Regions from separate parts of the Homo sapiens genome. Here region 2 is linked to region 1. Evidence: promoter capture Hi-C in human tissues and cell types (Jung and others, 2019). All regions are on one chromosome and are shown on one strand. The core of a region is centred on a gene start or on the middle of the fragment in contact, and the rest is flanking DNA. Distances in the headings are between cores, read along the strand shown.

The links. Contacts are between HindIII fragments. The study calls those that stand out against the background at their distance.
Region 2: a contact is called between a fragment that was not itself captured here and the fragment with the promoter of DGKI in region 1, in 1 of the 25 tissues and cell types used here (stomach).

The regions. Positions count from the first base shown.
Region 1 is chr7:137,843,690-137,849,984 of GRCh38, forward strand. DGKI (diacylglycerol kinase iota) reads right to left here and starts at 3,285. Exons shown (of 33, transcript NM_001321708.2): 1 at 2,773-3,285. The coding sequence starts at 3,173. RefSeq lists an enhancer at 2,124-2,625 and silencers at 3,260-3,309, 3,794-4,088. The HindIII fragment of the contact is 10,065 bases long and covers 1-6,295 here.
Region 2 is chr7:137,799,494-137,805,788 of GRCh38, forward strand. The region is part of intron 1 of DGKI (diacylglycerol kinase iota); the gene reads right to left. Among named protein-coding and RNA genes, the nearest start is that of DGKI, 44 kb to the right of the region's middle. The HindIII fragment of the contact is 4,028 bases long and covers 708-4,735 here.

The sequences.
Region 1 (6,295 bases), core at 2,035-4,534:
CCTCATTTATTTTTAAACCCTAGCTTATATGTTCCTTAGCAACAGAAGGAGCAGATGAGACCCCCCTACACACACACACACACACACACACACACACACACACACACCCTCTCTCCCAAAGCCCCCTTCTTTTTGCCTGTCAAGTTTCATTCCAAAAATACACATGTTCTTCAAAAGATATTTTTTGCCTACCTGCAAATCTCCACTCCTCCACCTCAAATGATCCCCCTCACGCAAGCAGCCATGCTCCATACCCTAACTCAGTCCTTTCACTCAGACTCCATTCTGTGAGGTCTTCCTGCCTCCTCTCCATAAGCTCCCACCAGACACTGTCCTCAGGTGCCCCCAGAAGGGAGGTGGTGTGGTCCCCACCAAGGAGCCGACCCTCAGCTCCTGACAAACCTGCTCTTTTTTTACACACCCTTCATCCATCCCACAGTAAAACAGCCAGCCCTGCTGCAGGAGTCCAGCACCAATGGCCGCCATGACGAGTGGGCAGGCCATTCACCATTACTCCAAAACAAATAAGTAACAGTGATCAAAATGGAGACAATTTCCTGTTACCCAGGCACAAACATGCTCCAGATGGAAGCACCTCCTTTTCACCATCTTTCCTCTGACTTTGAGACTGACTGGCCTGGTTTGGATGGGGAGGGTTTATGAGTTCAAAGATCAATTGTTTAGTCTTGGGGGCAAAATAGGGTGGCAATCCCCATATATTAGTCTGCATAAACATCGCCTGAGGAGCGTGTTAAAAATTCTCACCCACAGACAGTTTGATTCTGCAAGTCTAGGGTGGTGAGCACTTTTAACCAGACACCTGAGGTGACACTGATGCAGGAATTGGAGACTGTAAAGCTTTATTTAAAAGGAAATGATGTTCACGAAGTAGAATCCACCTCTATGTAAGGATTGTAAAGCAGACGCAATGTTATTATTCTTCTATAGAAACATGCTGCGTCTGTGTCCATGTCTATGCTTGTGTGTGTACACACTTACACGTGCATGTGTGAGCATGCAACTCAGAAAGCCAAAACCCCACACAACATACATTTTAAAAAAGGAGGCTCAGAGAATGACCCCTGACAAGAGGCAAGCTGAAATGATTTCCCTTGCAAACTCTGGCTTTGTCTTCCTACCCAGTGAGGACTCTGATGAATACCAATAAGCCAGGAGCAGCCTACACTGTGCTTCATGTAATCACCACCCCCTTCCAACTCACAGCTCCTAAATTAGGCTGAATGTAGTCCCTGTTCCCCCAGGGGCCAGACGGGCCATCATAACTAGGAAGTAGAACTGCCAGTGTCCTAGCATACCTCCCTAGAGCTACCCCCTCCCCACCATCTGTCTATTTTTAGAAACCAAAGTATAAAAAGAAAGATCCATTTGGACCTGATCTGTGTGAGTAACTAAGAGAACAACTCAGGTGGGGAACTCCCTCAGCGCACAGCGAACAAAATGCATGGGAGGAACGCAGAAGCAACAACCTCACCAGGAAGGCGTTTTAGGAGTCATCAGAAGTCAACACTTAGACACAGAGCACATGCCCTAGTGACTGTGGCCTCCAGGCCAGGCGATGTCTATGGGGATCCCAATTATTCACACACCTGCCCCCATAAATAAAACACACCCTCCCAAACCCACACACCTCTGTCATCTGCGTTTGCTTACATAACAGCACATGGTGTGACAGGCTTAATACTTTATATGGTTTTTGGGAAGGGAACACTAACTCAGAAAGAGTAGGGTTACAAGAATGTTTTCACTGACCCCTTTTCCAGAAACCCTCTGAGCTCCAGCAAGTGTACATCTTTGTAAACCTATGCTTGCATATCACCTCGACCTTTAACATCGATAAGCAGTAGGGTTAGTGTCAACAACTCTCCAAACCTGTCAATGTCTTTATTCTTGCCTGCGGAAGGGAGGGGTGAGAGAGACCTTAATAAATCCTAATTCCTCGTTGTTGGATTCTAATACAATGTGGGGTTATCTTTTATCCTAATTTAAAGGCCATTGATCCCACACTGTCCTTGTCTTACACATACACTCATCCTTAGGTGCAAATATGGTCCCCACTCTCACCTTCACCCCTAGCTTGCCAGCGGGCTCCCCACACCCTCCTCCAGCCAGGAGAGAGGCAAGGAGCACGCAGGCATGGAGCCCCCATAACCAGTGGCGCATCTACAGACATAAACCCACTCTTCCTTCATGGGGGATTTCGAGGCAGGTCCAACTTCCATAAGGATTTCTCTTCAGTGTAGTGCTATTCTTTTCTGCCTGTCGGAGTGATCTCAGCTGTCAAGTTAGTGCCAAAGGTTCATCCAGCGAAATCTGGAAGGTGGGGGAAGGGTGGTTGAAGATGACACCTGCTTAGGGGCAACTTTGACGACTTCTCTTAAGAAAACTAAGCATCACTGAGTCTGCAACCCTTTCTCTCTCTCTCTTTCTCTCTCTCTCTCTCTCTCTCTCTCTCACACACACACACACACACACACACACACACACACACACACAGACAAAATTTCTGTTGCTCTGACCTTAGGGACCCAGTGCTTCTCTCCTGCCACAGGGGAAAGCAGGCGTTGCTGCCCTCCAGCCTGGAATGATAGGATGGGGAGAAGACAGACATCCCCGGGAGGAGAGGGGGAAAGGGGGAAGGAGAGGCGTGGAAACAGAGAGGTGCCCAACTCCGCGGAAGCGCCCCTTGCTGGGTAGAAGAGTGGGTCTCCCGCCGCGGCGCACCTGTCTCGGCTGCCGGCTCCCCGCACCTACCTGTACGAGACCTGCTTCCGGAAAGTTAAGTTCCTCAGCTTCTCCTCCAGCGCTTCGTCCTTCTCCTTCTGGCCGGCGGCCGCGGGCTCGTCCAGGGCAGCGGCCCCCGCCGCCGCGGCTGACCCTGCGCCCCGCGGGTCCGCGCCGCCCTCGGCGCCCAGGCAGCAGCTCCCGGCGCCGCTTCCGCTGCTGCTGCTGCCGCCCGTCGCCCCTTTCTCCTCTCCCGCCGAGGAGCTGGGGTTCATGGCGCCCGCTCCGGCGGCCGCGGAGGGAGCGCAGGCGGCGCCGCTGCAGGGGCCGGGCGGGCTGGCGGCGGCGGCGGCGGCGGCTGCAGGAGCGCGGGCAGGTCCGCGCGCCGCTGGCAGGGGCAGCAAATGGCAGCCCCTTCCCGCAGCATCCATCCGCGGCTGCACCGCACCGGGGCATTGTGGGAAACTCCGCTCACTCCCCCGCCCCGGCCAATCAGAGGCCGCCGCTCCCCGCCTCCCGCGCCCTCCCGCGCCGGCCCGCACCCTCCAGCCCCGCCGGCCTCTTCCTAAATCCCGAGCGAAAGCCCAAGCTGAACATGAACTCTGCCCGGAGGCGACGGGCTGCGGCGGAGGGGGAGAGAGAGGAGGACAGGCTGCGACCCCGGGCTGGGGACGCCAGGGCAGGGACAGCGAGCATCAGGAAGGAGAGCGTCCGGGGAACTCGAGTGGCCGCGCCCTGGGTCCTGCACCGTGAGGCTGGGGGGACCAGGACCGGCGGGCGCCCACCTTGGTCCTGAGCCCAGCTGCCGACGCTGGGCCAGCACCCTCTCCACCGCCGCCCTCCAGTGAGCAGAGCTGGGCTCAGGCAGCAGCCCCTGGGCGCGGGAAGGTAGCGGGAGCTGCATTTAGGGGAGGGGGGAGGTAGCAGGAGCTCCGCCAGTGGGAACCTTGGAGTGAATTCGTCGGCGGGTGCCAAGTCGAAGCGCCGACCTCCTGTCTCTGGACTGGGGCCCGGACCCCTGCGTCCCCAAACTGCGTCCCCGCCTTGCTCGTCGCCCGGTGCCTTCCTTAGGCGCAGCAGACCCTCGGTAAACAGCGGTTAATTCGATGGAATCGGATCACAGGGCCCTCGGTGAAGCAGAAAGGCGGAGGAAATCCAGGAGGCAGAAGTGAGGACCCTGGCGCCTGGCGCCGCTGCGTTGTTCGTATAAGAAGAGGCATCCCGGAAGGGGCTTCAAACCACTTAGGACCGACTGCTGAAACGAATCCAAGCTTGTGGTGTCTGCAGAATTTAACTGTCCGCCTCAACCCCAGTTTTTGTTTCTAAGATTATCGAAAACTGTGCGGTTTGAGTGATGTGCTACAAAGTGTTTAAAACAGATTGTTTCCCAAATTAGGGGTTTCCACACAAGAAATCGCTGCTGTCGGCAAACACAGGAACTATCTATGGTTAAGACAAGGTGGTGTTCGTAACCAAACTATAAACCTACATATACGAGGTGGTAAGAGAACCAGACCAATGAACAGTTTCAGGCTGGCGTGGTGTGCCCGTGAACAAAGAATTGTAATACTGGCAAAAATCTAAATTGCTTTCTTTCCCTTTATTTTCTCATCACTAAAATTAGGAAAATGAACAGATATGTCAAATCTCTTCTAACACCCATGTTCTGTAACTCTCCTCGTATGTACCTTATAATAAGACAAAGGTAAAGACATTTCCATGTGCAGCGAGGAAAAGTAATAATAAAAATTAAAACAACTAGCAAGTATGAAGCCCTCTTTTTATACGGTATGTGCTGTATAAGCACTTCCCTCATCCACCTCTATGTTTTCACAGCACCTCTCAAGGGCTTGGACACGTGCAAATGCAAACTGGCAAAGCCAGGAGTCAAGCCAGGCTGCTCAGTGGCCTTTGTGCTTCACCCCAGTTTAATGCACCCGTCTTCAGAAGGGACATCGTGTATTAGGTGCTTCAACACAAGATCCACGAATATCTCGTACATCCCTAAAATCAAGCAAATGTCATCTGAACCCAATTACTGGGACAGCCCCCTCATTACTCCCACTTACTTTTAGCCGTATCTTCCCCAATCCAATCTCAAGTGTGAGCCCCAAAATACTTCTGATTTTTCACGCCTCCACTTAAAAATCTTTTGATTATGTCATATTGCCGTTAGGGTAAAGTTCAAACAACTCAGCTGATTTTGAGGGCTACATTGGTGGGTGGTGGAGTACTGCCCGCTTTCCCTTCATACTGTCATGACAGTGAGGTTCTGAACTGTTCTTTGTGCAAACCCCACACGCTCTCTGCTCTCTCCATTCCCATTTTTGCACGTGTGAGTCTGCTGTCTCCTCTTCTTTGCTTCTCCTTTTCCTAAGATTTGCCAAGCCAACTACTCTACACCTCCATCGGATTTTAGTTTACATGTCTCTCCCCATGTTTCTCCCCACTAGAAGCCTCCGTTGATGATCCCTTTCTAGACTGTGATGGACGTACCTCCCATAGCTCCCATTGCACCATTGTACTAAACTTGGACCACTGCAACTGTCATGTGTCTATTTATCCCACATGTATATAAACGCTATATGTTGTTTATCACTATATCTTCAGTAATAATAAACAGGTAACATAATTGCATAAGTGTGTATATCATAGACCATCATGAAGTGTTTATTGACTGAGAAAAGAAATATACATCGTTGTGAACATAATGAAAGACGTCATTTTTCAGAACAAACAGTTTGATAATAGATGGTATTGATGAGGGGGTATGAAAACAAATGCTTCCTCAAATTTTTGATATACTTTAACTAGTAAAATCTCTCTGATGGTAAATTTTACAATATCTATCCATGTTTGAAATGCATGACCTAATTAACTAAGCAATTTCACTTCTAAAAATTCGTCCTCTGATATACTTGTAGGTATACACAAGGATTTAAGATTGAAAACAACCTAAATTGTTATTCATCCAAACAATGGAATTCTCTGGAACTGTCAAGATACATAAGGCAAGTTAACATTCATTAATATAAAACAATCTCAAATATATAATGTTAACAAAAAAAGAAAAACAATGCTCAGAGTATTTAGTAGTATGCTATCATTTATGGAGAAAAGAAGATCTATAGAGATATAATATTTCTGGAAGGATACATAAGAAAATGGTCACAGTGAAGCGGAGTTGAATGGCTCTAGCTAGAGTCTTGAGGTTTTGCCTGATTCAATAAGTACATGCCAACAGAATGTCTCCCAGCCTATCAGAAAAGCCAGCTGGACCTCTCAAGTGTGTATTTATATGTTTAAATAGTGTATTAATGGGTTGCTAATCAGAGGAATATTGGGTTTTTAAAAAAACAGTCATTGAACATTAACTCTAACTTAAGACAGAGCGACATTTGGGAAGCACAAATAATTCCAGCAAAAGACAAATGAATTCTGTTGTGGGGTGATCTCCTGAGAAGTTACTTAAAATATTAGTCATTCTCTTAGACAATTTATTTTCCTTTCTATTTTTCAACGATCACCAAGTAACCTTGTAATTATTCATCCT
Region 2 (6,295 bases), core at 1,472-3,971, 45 kb before region 1:
GGTATATAAATTGTATCTCATAATGTCATTATTAACAAAACCAGTCCAACTCCTCATAAGAACATACTGAGAACAGTTATTCTGCCTAGAATTTACTCTTTTAAAAGTGATTATTTTGATATTATGGTTCATCCATTTTGGGCTGGATTGGTTAAGAAGTCAATCACATGCTTTCCTAAGGAAAACTGATCAAAATCTGCTTCTGATGTAAGCCAGCCAGCCTCATCTACCAATCAAAGGAATGCTTGAATGAAAGGATGATTAAATGAGAGATTAATTACAACATCTCCCATACAACTTAGATATTGTTTGCTGTCCCATTAGGTGCGTCCATTTTGAATCTTTAGCCAGCTTTTTAATTCAATGAGATTATGAACCATGTATTTGAAGCTTTTGAAATCTTCTTCTATAATGATTAGTTCTATGCTAACTTTAAGTATTTAATGGCATTAGAAATCACCTGATTCAGTTTTTCAGTACGGTTCTCTCTAGACAACTGTTAGAAATAAAACAGGAAGCAAATACCAGGGGTGGCAGGGATAGGAGGCATGGTTGCTTTAGGACAACCAGGACCTTTTAAGGAGAATGAGAAATCTCAGGTACCCAAGAGATTTGGGGATTCCAATTTCCCCCCTATAGAATATGGCAAGGTTGGAGTTGAGATTGTTGCTCAACAGAATTGGCAAATACCTACTACATCCTTAGAACAAACTGGAGTGATATACCAGCCAAATGGGTTCTCACTGGTTACAGGCAAGGAGTGTAATATGGTTTGGATGTTTGTCCCCACCCAAATATCCTGTTGAAATGTAATCCCCAGTGTTGGAGGTGGGGCCTGGTGGGAGGCGTTTGGGTCATGGGGGCAGATCCCTCATGGCTTGGTGCTGTCCTCAGGATAGTGAGTGAGTTCTCAAGAGATCTGGTTGTTTAAAACTGTGTGCTACCTCCCCCCAACTCTCAGTTTTGCTCCTTCTCCTGCCATGTGAGACACCTGCTCCCTCTTCGATTTCCGCCATGATTGGAAGCTTCCTCAGGCCTCACCAGAAGCAGATGCCAGGGCTATGCTTTCTGTACAGGCTACAGAACCATGAGCCCATTAAACATCTTTTTTTACAAATTACCTAGTCTCAGGTTTTCTTTACAGCAATGCAAGAACTGACTAACACAGAGTGAAATGTTTTAATGTTCATGTTTAACAGGTATAAAACTAGACCTAGAAAAGACTGGCAAAACAGAGATTCAGCTGAGTCAAATCTTGTTGATATTGAAGTCTATTCCTAGGTTGTGCACTTTGATATTTCAAGTATGACCTTAACATTTTCTGCCCCCACCCAATGCTCCATCCAATGCTCATGATGCCCAATTATGCATCTCCCAGTTGATCCTCAATAACTATATACTCAGTAAAGTTTGGTAGCTAAATAATCCACCATTCTGTAGAATAAGAATTTTGTAGAATTTGAAGCAAAGAATTTCAGCCTCACCTTAGACAATATTCATCCCAAAATGAATGTTGTTCAACAGTGATCTAAGTGCTGATGCCCTTTCTGTAGAACAAGTGTCAGCACTCTGCAATTTTTCATTCTGCAAAGTGTTTTGTTCTATACTGTCTAATACAATCTTGTACTTCTCTTCCTATCACTCTTATGCACTGATTTGTCATTTTCACTTCAGGAGCCTGGGAAACTTTTGATGAAGCATGACTCATGGCTCAGGAAGAGAAAAGAAGGAAGTACCAGCTGATGCTAAGAGGCTGGAAGGTCAAATATTATACTTTCTTGCTCCCTGGAGTTGGAAATGGGATCGGCTTTCCTGAATCTCATTAGCTACTAGAAAGAGAAAAAAAAGATCAAGGTTTCAAAAGGAAGGAGCAAGGGGAAATGGATTTCATAAAACAACTGTGTCCTTTACATCATTACATAGCTATAAAGTATAGTGCAAAAATAAACAACAAAAGCATTAGTTCATTAGATGTAGGACCAGAAAGCTTGGGACCCTCCAGTTTCTAACCATGTGATTTTGAAAAATTAAACATCAGGTTTCAGTCCTCAGTCTCACTCTCCACAGAATAAATAATAATTCGGAGTGACCTGATAGTAAGTGGCATTATCACTCTCTCTGCCATCTGCTGACAGTCCTATGAATCAGGATGGAGATCAGTCTCTTTTATGATGTATAAGATTCCATATCCTGAATGGGAAACAAGGGAGTGTGTTTATATGCACAGGCTTGCACCCACTGGGGGTGAGAGCTGGGGAGAGAGGATTAGTAAATGTTCTGGAAGAAATCAATATGGGTTTGTGGCTGGGAAAAGCATCCTCCAAAAGAATTGCAGCCCTCAGCTCTCTCTCCTTGGCAAAAGCTTCAACTTTAGCATGTGCCCCCCTGCCCCATCACTCAGTGGAAAACTTTATGCAAAAAAATGCATTTTTGGAAGACACGAGCACACACGTGTTCATAGCAGCACAATTGGCAATTGCAAAAATATAAAATGGGCCTAAATGCCCATCAACCAATGAGTGGATAAAGAAAATGTGGTATAATTACAGCATGGAATACTACTCAGCCACAAAAAGGAATGAAACAATGGCATTTGCAGCAACCCGGATGGAGCTGGAGGCCATTATTCTATGTGAAGTAACTCAGGATTGGAAAACCAAATACTGTATGTTCTCTAAGTGGAAGCTAAGCTATGAGGAGGCAAAGACATAAGGATAATATATGAACTTTGGGGACTCAGAGGGAAGGGTGGGAGGTGGATGAGGGATAAAAGACTACACATTGTGTACAGTGTACACTGCTTGGGTGACAGGTGCACCAAAATCTCAGAAATCGCTACTCAAGAATGTATCCATGTAACCTAAAACCACCTGTTCCCCAAAAACTATTAAAATGATTTTTAATATCTTTCTGGGAATTATTCTTTTCCAGCTGCAAATTTACTACATCATGTCCACTTATTGCTGACTTTCTTTGTTACAGCTGTTTTGCACCTCAAATCATAATAATCCTCTATTTGTGACATTATAATTATCACTAAGTAACCAATTGTAATGTCATAAATAGGGTTATGGCTTTATGAGGACATGAGACTTGCCCATTAATTTGCAGAAGGTCCTGACTAATAAAGGGATATTCTCCATCATGAGAAAAGTGAAAGATGGTTTGTGAAAAACTGAGATTTTCCAGAGTAAATTTCTTATTAGTGCCAAATTATAGAAGTGGCTTCCTCTCCTACCGGCCTCTCTCCTCGAACTTCTTCCCTTGCTGGGAAGCTGTTCATCTCTGAGTCAGAGAAAATCTAACACCTGGCTGTTCCAACTGCACATCTTACTCTGGCCTTTATTTAATTGAATTTTATTTAACTAATACCTACTGATGTTCATTAATACAATTCATGAAGCACTATGCCAAATGCTACAAAGACAAAAAAATTAGATGAGAAAAACTCTCAAGAAAATTATAGTTTAGGAGGTAAAATAAGACAAGCACTAAAAATAATGAATACAAAGCAAAGCAAAATAAGAATCACTATGCAAATATTAACACTACAAAAGGGAATCCAGAGGAAAGGCCAGGGCAGGTCGCTTGCATTAAGGAAAGATCCATAAATGCATCCTGGAGAAGCAAGTGAGCGATTAAAGGTTTCTACATTTGGAGAGAAGGGATGGAGGGGTGCAAGCTGAGAGAAAACGCAGGTGAGACAAAACAAGGAAATTCAGGACACAGTGAGGAGACCAGTTTTGCTGGGTTGTAGAGAAGATGGAGGTAAGTTTGAAAAAGGGGGCTGTGATCACTCTTCAGAGGCCTTACATTCCAGTATACAGTTTAGACAAATTACAGGTCAGTAACAAAGAGCCAAAAAATGTTTTCAAACAAGAAAGTAATGTGACTGGAACTGTATTTTTGATTCTGATATAGGAAACATGTTAAAAAGATCCTCATATGAATCCTATCCACTGATTTCACATTTTCTAAGTTATGTATATTATTTAGATCACCTGTTTAGCTGTATGATATTTTCTTTCTTTTTGATGCTATTTTTCTTTATGATGTCTACTAAGACAATGCACCTTTCACATTTATATACAGGCATCTTGACTGGACACGGCCTTAACATTTCATGTCATTTTGAAGTCTCTGGAAAACTTTTCCTGAGCACAATGTTTTCCTCCACTTACTTAAGAATTTCTTACAAAAGCGCAGTTTCACTTCCAGGAGCTTCAATTAAAATACAACCATTTCTGCAAATGAAACATATTAAGTAAGTGTGTATCAAATATCCTGGAGAATTTAACAAGCTTTAAACGGACATTGGAACACAGCAAGGATTTGAAGGCTAAATGCATAACCTATTTGGATTTGGCCCAGGTCCCATCCCTAACACCCGCTCACTATATCATCTTAGATTCGTGAGGTAAATAGTCCGGGCATGCGTTTTTCATTTTCTGAAAATATAAGCTAACAAGCATGCCCACTTTGCACAATTATCTTCTCTGAGGCTAGACTGAGGGAGCTCCTTTGTGAGAGTAAGTGACAACCAGCAAACACTGAGCACATGCTTTGGGAAGCACTCAACAGTAAGCGCTTAGACCATTCTCTCTTCACATCTCCAGTACCCAGCAAATGCCTGGCATAGAGCAGGAGCTTGATGCCTGAGTTTGATATTGTTAAATAGGAAGCAGTGTGGCATTGACTTTGGACTTCCATCTCTTCCCCCTCTCTACTGGATATGTGAGCTTGTGCAGTTATTTAGCCTCTCTGAGCATCAGTTTTCTCTTCAGGAAAATGAAGAAAATTACCACTTTACAATTATTGAAAAGAGATCCTACAAGAAAGCACTCAGAACATTCTAGGCATATAAATATAGGCTAGTTTTCTCTGCTTCAATAAGATTTAATTATTGGCTCGATGCCCTGTTCATTCGTCAGAAGAGAAGTCCTTCACTCATTCCGTCCTTTTAATAAGTCTCTTTGACCCCTGTGCCCCCATTTAACATAAATACAACTAGACCAGCTATTAAAAATTATCTGTAAGAACAAAGGCAAGGCAGTTTTGAAGTCTTTGAAGAAAAATAAAAAGATGTAAACGTTTTTGGTGTTTGTGTGCTCAGTGTTTAACATTGATTCTAGCTGACAGAGGGTACAGAGGCACTCCTCTCGATAACAAGCTTGGATGGGCACAGGAAAGGAAAGGAAATGGATATATTTCTTTTTCTGTAAAGAAGTCTGCATTAAAACCATGATTCACGGCAGAGCTTTGCCTGTCTACAAAAAGAAATGGAAAATGATGTTTATCCTTTGGGAGTAGAATAAAATTTCTATCTATTTAGTCTAATCTTACTTTGTAGGCTTACGGAGTTGAATGGATCTTCTCTCTAAATCCTCATCCAGGTCTCCTTTTTTATGTTCAACTCAAATGACTCATTCATTTTCTGAGTCTGTGTTTTCAGCTGTATTTCCACCAACTCATTTTCAAAGAAAGTAAGTTAAGAGAAACCCCAGAAGCAGCTGGGCTGCTTATTACCTACTTGTTTATACATCCCTGTCATTAAGAACTACAGGTTGACACACATGGATGACTCCACTATTGTACTGATGTGTATTGAGTGCTATTTTGCCAAGATGTTTTTAAAAGATAATTTCTCTCTGTATGCCTTCTCCCTCGTTTTATTTATGTTTTTTAACATAATAGGCACTAGTTTGTGCACATCTCCAGTAAATCTGTTTCTTTGTCTTCCAGCTGTGCTTGAGGGAAGCTAGAGCTGACTCACATTAGTCTGACATCTCCATTGAGCATGACAGTGTTCTCCTTACCTGCCTGACAATCACCAGTGCTGATTCTGGCGAGGGAGCGAATGGAGAAAGAATGCCTACCATCCCTTACGCTGTCTGCAGGGAAGGCATAACAAGGTCCTGGCCAGAGAGGAGCTACCCCTGAATGGTTGAGGCAAACTACTACTGGCTTGAGAGCTTCCCAGACAAGGATCCAAAGATCAGCAGCCGTGGTTGGTTTCCCAAGCAGACGTGACATAGTCATTGTGATTATCTCCACCAGAAACAATGGAAAAAACCATGTTCTTCAAGGCCAAACAAGGGCAGTGCATAAGCATGCAACCAGGCAGATGAATATAAAACCCTGCCATATGAAAGCTTTCCCGAGCTCAAAAACAGGCATGATTTGCATCTATTCTTGCTCCCATCTCAAGCATTTCTCCTTTGAAGGCACCCTTCATAACATTAATTCCACTTGTTCTCAGATGGGCATAATCTCTTAGAACTGAATAATTGGAAAT